2 separate regions of the Homo sapiens genome follow, and region 2 is linked to region 1. Evidence: promoter capture Hi-C in human tissues and cell types (Jung and others, 2019). All regions are on one chromosome and are shown on one strand. Each heading gives the region's core, a stretch centred on a gene start or on the middle of the fragment in contact. The rest is flanking DNA. Distances are from core to core; before and after follow the strand shown.

Region 1 (3,083 bases), core at 112-2,611:
AATTAAGCAACCTGCCTTAAGATTTATGTCTGGGGCTCCTCGCCTGTAAAACACACCTACCTTAGGGGGCTGTTAAGAGGATTCAATGTAATTGAATTAAGTAGGTACAACTTAATTACAAAGCACTTTTCCCCAACCATTTCAAATTATTTATCTACGTATTCATCCATCCATCCAAAGCACCTCAATAATTGGCCAATAATTCCTAAGTGAAAGGAGCTTTACAACACACGAAGAACTCTTCTATTATGTCACACGAAATTATAAATATAAATATAAAACAAATTATTTTACATATAAACGATGGAGGTAAAAAATAAATCGGCCAATAATAACTAGCAAGTAGTATTTGGTAATTCTTTTGGTGAGGCCGACTTAAAAATTTACGAAATATTATTTATTTTCATTGCAAGTCTATCAGAAATCACTAATGGTGTAGCACTGCATTCTTCCCTGCTTTTGGTTCTCAAACTACGTATCTTAGTAAACGCAATTTGCAGACAAACCAAGCCTCGCTAATCAGTGCATCATGGCTACTCTGGTAAAGGAAGAAATTCACTGTTTGCCAAGCATCCCATCAGATGGGTGACTTCACAGCCACTGGAAGAAATCTTTCTCATGTTCGAGTAGATGGAAACTCCAAAACTGTGCAGTTGCTAAATCCACTTGTCACACCTCCTCCTTTTCTCTGCTTCTAAGGTTGCCCTCTAAACTCTTTATCTGAGGATGGAAACACACACACGCACCCACACACACCCACACCCACACACACACAAACGTATTTGGCTAAAGGTCAATTCACATAGTGGCAGGGACTTTCGTTTATATGCATTTTCCTTCCCAGCTCTCTCAGTTCTGAGTCAGGCTAAGCAGGAGGCAGAGAGCTCGTCCTCCTCTGCATGGGCGCTTTTTCTTATTTGACTTTTAGTCCTGGGAGGAGTAGCGTAGTTGCGAGATACTAGGATATCCACAAGCGGGATGAATTTGGACCTTATCCCTCACTGTGATCCTTCACTTCGCCTTCTGTTTCAATTTCTCCCAGTCGGTTTACTGCTTGACAAAATTCTTTCACAATTAAGTGATCACAGGACAACCCAACCCAACCAATCCAAACCTGCAGGCAACCCCAGACATCCAGGGAACCCTGGCGCGGCTCGGGCCAGCCCACACCCACGCGGAATCATTCCATTTATCGGCCACCAATCAGCCCTCCACACGCTCCCGCGCCAGCCAATCCGAACAAGCGCACGTTGTTCCGGCCACCTCCTCTCAGCCCCCCCTCCCCGGAGCCCCCGGGATCGGGCCAGGGGGCGGGGCTGGGGGCTCGGCCCGCCTTGCCCTGAGGCGCTGGGTGCCTTCCAGTTGGCTGCGACCAGCGGTGACTTACAAGTTGGCTGCTGTCGCCTGCGCATCGGCGGGCCGGGAGGCTGAGCAGTACTGTTGAGAGCGGTGTGAGGTGCTTGGTAGCGCGCCGTAGCTGCTTCCACGTCCTTGCTTCACCTCAGGTAAAGGTAAGGAGAGCCACGGAGCCGCGGCAGGATTGGGGTGGCCCGTGTGGAGGGCGACTGTGGCGCCCGGGGCGTCCTGCCAGGTGCGTCTTCTGGACCTGCTCCAGACCATGGATCTGGGGAGCTCGCGGTGGACGTTGGGGATGGCGGGCCCCGGCGTCCGGGCGGGAGAGGACCTCACAGATGAAAGAGAAACCTGAGCCCCTGGGAGGGGAAGCGGCGAGCTGGAAGGATCCCAGGGCTTGCAACTCGCCCCTGCGCGCCGCTCACCTATTTAAGTACTTGGAATCCATTAGACCTCAGTGTCCTCAGCTGTTAAATGGGAGAGGGGCGGTGGTAATCCCGCTTGATTTGGGACAGTCCTGTTCTTTGGAGGTCACCGCGCTTCCTGGTTCTTAGGAGGTGCACAGACAGCGCAGGGGCAGCCGCGTCCCACCAGGCTTCGCGGAGGTGATGCCAAAGACAAGAGACAAAGTTTTCCCAGGGCTTACTGCCTTCCAAGGTCCCTGCTAAATGTATTAACTCAAATAATTTCTCACCAAATCAGTGTCATTGTTTTCCCGAATTTACACTTGAGAAAGATTACCTTAGATTTTTAGGTTCAGCAGCCAGGACAAAACTTGACAAATATTTGGTGGGCCCAGGTTTTTTATATGAAGTCTTTTCCAGCCTGTGATCAGCTTCCACAGTTTTACAAGAGAGAGCTTTAGGCTCTGAAGTCAGACGCCCTGGGTTGGAATTCTGGCTCCATCACTTATGAACTGTGTGATCTTGGACAAGTGACTCAACCTTCCTGTTGCTATTTTCCCTTTCTGTAAAACAGGGAAAATGTATAGACATTAAGCTACTATTCTCACTTATGGAAGACCTCAAGATATCTAAAGTATGCCCATTTACACCAATCCTAGAGCTTCTGAATAACTAAAATTCCTTTACCATAATGAAACACATTTTCTCAAGGAGGACTATTACTGTTGTGAGGATTAAATAAAATAAATGCAATGTAAAGCAGCCAGAAGGACTGACCATGTAGTAAGTGATCAATAAATGTTATTGTTATTTTTTAAAATCAAGTACAGAGCATTAGGTTTTTTTTTTAATCAAGTATTAGAGCATTAGGGGTTTGAACAGTAAGTTGGCTCACTATTCATATTGTAGAAATATACTTCCATGTTGCATTTCTTTAAATAGTGAGCTCCTGCCAGAGCCAGTCTCAAAAAATGAGAAGCTGCTGTACTTGTCTGAGTTAGAAAACTTAACAGTTCAACATTGATTGGAAATCAAGCATATGCTGAAATTTTTATGTTAGTTAGAAAATATAATTTAATTTACAAAGCTTTGGTTTGTATGACATTGGGGAAAGTCCATGGCATGTTAAACTGAAGCTGTTGACGGAAGTGAAAACCATATTAATCAAGTAATGCAAGGTTAGACCGTTCTGATACCTGCATTTCTTTAACAAGTGAATTCTGACCTAGTCGTACTACAAAAGTCCAAACAGATTTTTATGGCATTCACTTTACATTACAGGTTAAATGTTTTATTATGTTCCATATTTAAAATAGAACCTATGCC
Region 2 (3,091 bases), core at 377-2,876, 630 kb before region 1:
TTGTGCCACCACGCCTGGCTAATTTTTGTATTTTTAGTAGGGACAGGGTTTCGCCATGTTGGCCAGGCTGGTCTCAAACTCCTGACCTCAAGTGATACGCCCACCTCGGCCTCCCAAAGTGCCGGGATTACAAGCATGAGTCACCACCACGCACAGCCAGAATTAACTTACTTTTTTTAAACAAAGTTAATGTTAACTTAGGTTTCATTGATTAAAAAGTGTGGCATGGCAAAGGAGTGAGGGGATCCCCTCCCTCTTCTCCTGCAGGCTGGACTACCCTCTTTTCAATTCTAGGTGCTATAACCTCAAGTGGGGCATGGGCACAAGATTACATATTCATACATGTGACATTTATGTCACACATTCAACTATAACAGCAGTAGCAACAATTGCAACACCCATGGCCCCAATGTCTATCACCTGGGATGTCATTGCTACTTTCACCCAATTTAGATATAAATGACCTCTAGGTTTTCTTCTATCTCTACAATCCTACGATCCAGCTCACAAAAGATATCATCTTTGAGGATTAGGTGTAAATTCAGCCATGGCCAGTAAAGCCTCTAAAATCTCTGTATCCAACCAAGACCAGGCGCGGTGGCTCATACTTGTAATCCCATCAGTTTAAGAAGTTGAGGCTGGCAGATTGCTTGGGCCCAGGAGTTCAAGACCAGCCTGGGCAACTTGGCAAAACTCATCTCTACAAAAAATTAGCTGAGTGTGGTGGCACACACCTGTAGTCCCAGCTACTTGGGAAACTGAGGTGGGAGGATCATCTAAGCCCTGGGAGGTCAAGGTTGCAGTGAGCCGTGATTGCACCACTGTACTCCAGTCTGGACAACAGGGTGAGACACTGTCTCAAAATAAATAAAATAAAATCTCAGTGTCTAGAACACCAAAAGCTCTATGAGAGTGCAATAAGAATATTTGTATGTTGGTAAAAGAATGGGAAGTTAAGTATAATAAAATGCTTTTCCTTAAAAGTACATATCTATTGGGTTGATTTCCCTCATATTCCCAGGGCTGCTCCATATCAGGGTGGTTAAAATAATTTTAAGGAATGATTATAGGGAGAAAAGTAGGCACAGAGCCCTGAATTCTGTTTCTGAAGGCAGTTTATTTTCTGCCTTAGTGGACTATAGGCTTCAAGTCCAAAGATCCAGTCCAGTGATAATAAGGGGTGAATTGGAGGGTGGCCATAGCATAATTTATTATTCCAGGCTTCTGGTAGTATTGTCTTTGGCAACTGAGCACATTTCCCCCTTCTTTTCTATGTCTTCAGTGCAGACTCTGCTTTCTCCCTGTTTATACAGGGTCAGCACATGAAGTGATGTGGACAGAGAGCCCCACCTCCTTGGCTGCTGTGGTTGGTTCAGGTATTAACACGTGACTCAAGCTGGGCCAATTGGAGCCCTTGTCTGGGACTTTTCTATATTGGAGTCAATAGGGAAAATTGCTGTTGCTTCTATGTTCCTGGCACTAGAAGAATAGCTGAGGATGGCTGACTTTATCTCTTGTAGAGAAAGCCTGTCTGCAATAGTAAGAATGAGGCCAACACAAAGAGAGACAGGGAAGATAGGGGAGAAATGGTGATATTGAGGTCTGGATCTCAGTCTGTCTGACATCAGTGCTAATGAACCACTCCTTTTAAAATTTAAGTTGATTTGTATTTGTCATTTATATCCTGACTAATACAGCCTTCAGAAAGAAATATTAGAAAAAGCACTGTCATGAACTATTACTTCATTAACATAAAAACAGATCATTTTGGTATGATGATAATAAAAGTAGCAACAATCCATTAAGAATCTACTATATGTTAGGCACTGCAGTAAGTGCATTACATATTTTTTTCATTTAATCTTCACAACAACCTATGTAGTACCTGTATCAGTTTGCTATAACTGTATGACTAACTGCCCTGAAACTGAGTGGCTTGAAACAATAATTTGTTTAACTCACAAGTCTTTGTCTTGGTTGGGTAACTGTGGTCTGGACCAGGCTCAGGTGATCATAAATGGGCTTGCTAACGAGTCTGCGGTAAGTTGGCAGATTTCTAGGACTTACTAGTCTAGGGTGGCCTCATTCATAGGTGTAGAGTTTGGTCACCTGGGCACACAAGAGTGGATATTGCCTCTCCAGCAGGCTAACCCTAGCTAGTTTCAAGCAGGTGCCAAATGAGTGAGTGGAGGCATGTGAATCCTCTCATGGCTCACTCTTGGCACTGGCACGCAACTACTTCTGAAGCATTTTCTTGGCCCAGTTTCAAGGAATGAGGAAATAGTCTCTATTCTTAATGAGAGGAACTGAAAAGTCAAGGAGAGTGGATATAGAAAGGCATGGAAACAATGGGAACACAACTATTCTATTATGAAAGGTATTATGTGCATACACTTCAAAAGTTAAGAAACTTACTCAAGGTCATAAAGCTAGAAAGCAGCAGAGACAGGATTTGGGCCTTAATCTTCTGACCGAAAATCTCATTCTCTTTCAACACTTCTTTCTAATATTGCTGATTGATCTGTGCAGTCCAGATGTCACAGTGTAATTAGTTTCTAAAATAAATCTGTTCTTAGATTACTTTTGAATGACTTCTAAGTTATTATAAAAAAGTTCTTTGTTGTAATAAAGGTATTAACTTTCCATGAGTATATTCTTGACCCACACCCATAAGCATTTTTGCTCATATTTGTATCCACAATAAAATGAAGTTCATATTTTCATCTTGTAGCACAGTATCATTTGAATTACCAGATGCTATTTTAGAAGACTAGCTAAAATAACTTGCAGTACCTAGGAAGTTCTTAAATGGTGCTTACAGGAACTTGACTTCAGACAAATGGGAAGCCAGAAGATGGTGAATGAAAGGATCTATACACTAAAAAGAAAGCTGTCGACAGACAGAAGAAAGAGAGCTGCAGGACAGTGGAACTCCATCCCGTGGGATTCGAAGGAGAGGAGTAGTGGTAAGTGGCTATTATTTAAGTTGAGGAGTCTTAGAACCTAGTGTATAAGGCTCTGTGCATATCCCAGAGCCAGCCTTCTCCAAAGAAACTCAAAAGGGTAAAATATGGGGAAGAGAGACAAGGCA

Evidence for each region. The method cuts DNA at HindIII sites, captures the fragments that hold promoters and counts their contacts. A contact is called where the count stands out against the background at its distance.
Region 2: a fragment that was not itself captured here is called in contact with the fragment with the promoter of STARD4 in region 1 in 3 of the 25 tissues and cell types used here (dorsolateral prefrontal cortex, lymphoblastoid cells and mesendoderm cells).

What each region holds. Positions count from the first base shown.
Region 1 is chr5:111,510,813-111,513,895 of GRCh38, reverse strand. STARD4 (StAR related lipid transfer domain containing 4) reads left to right here and starts at 1,361. Exons shown (of 6, transcript NM_139164.3): 1 at 1,361-1,511. It overlaps STARD4-AS1 (STARD4 antisense RNA 1), which reads right to left and starts at 1,670. Exons shown (of 7, transcript NR_040093.1): 1 at 1,388-1,670. RefSeq lists enhancers at 897-1,036, 1,517-1,726 and a silencer at 1,117-1,486. The HindIII fragment of the contact is 5,039 bases long and covers 1-3,083 here.
Region 2 is chr5:112,142,072-112,145,162 of GRCh38, reverse strand. It overlaps a transcript of EPB41L4A not described here. Among named protein-coding and RNA genes, the nearest start is that of EPB41L4A-AS1, 17 kb to the left of the region's middle. The HindIII fragment of the contact is 7,979 bases long and covers 1-3,091 here.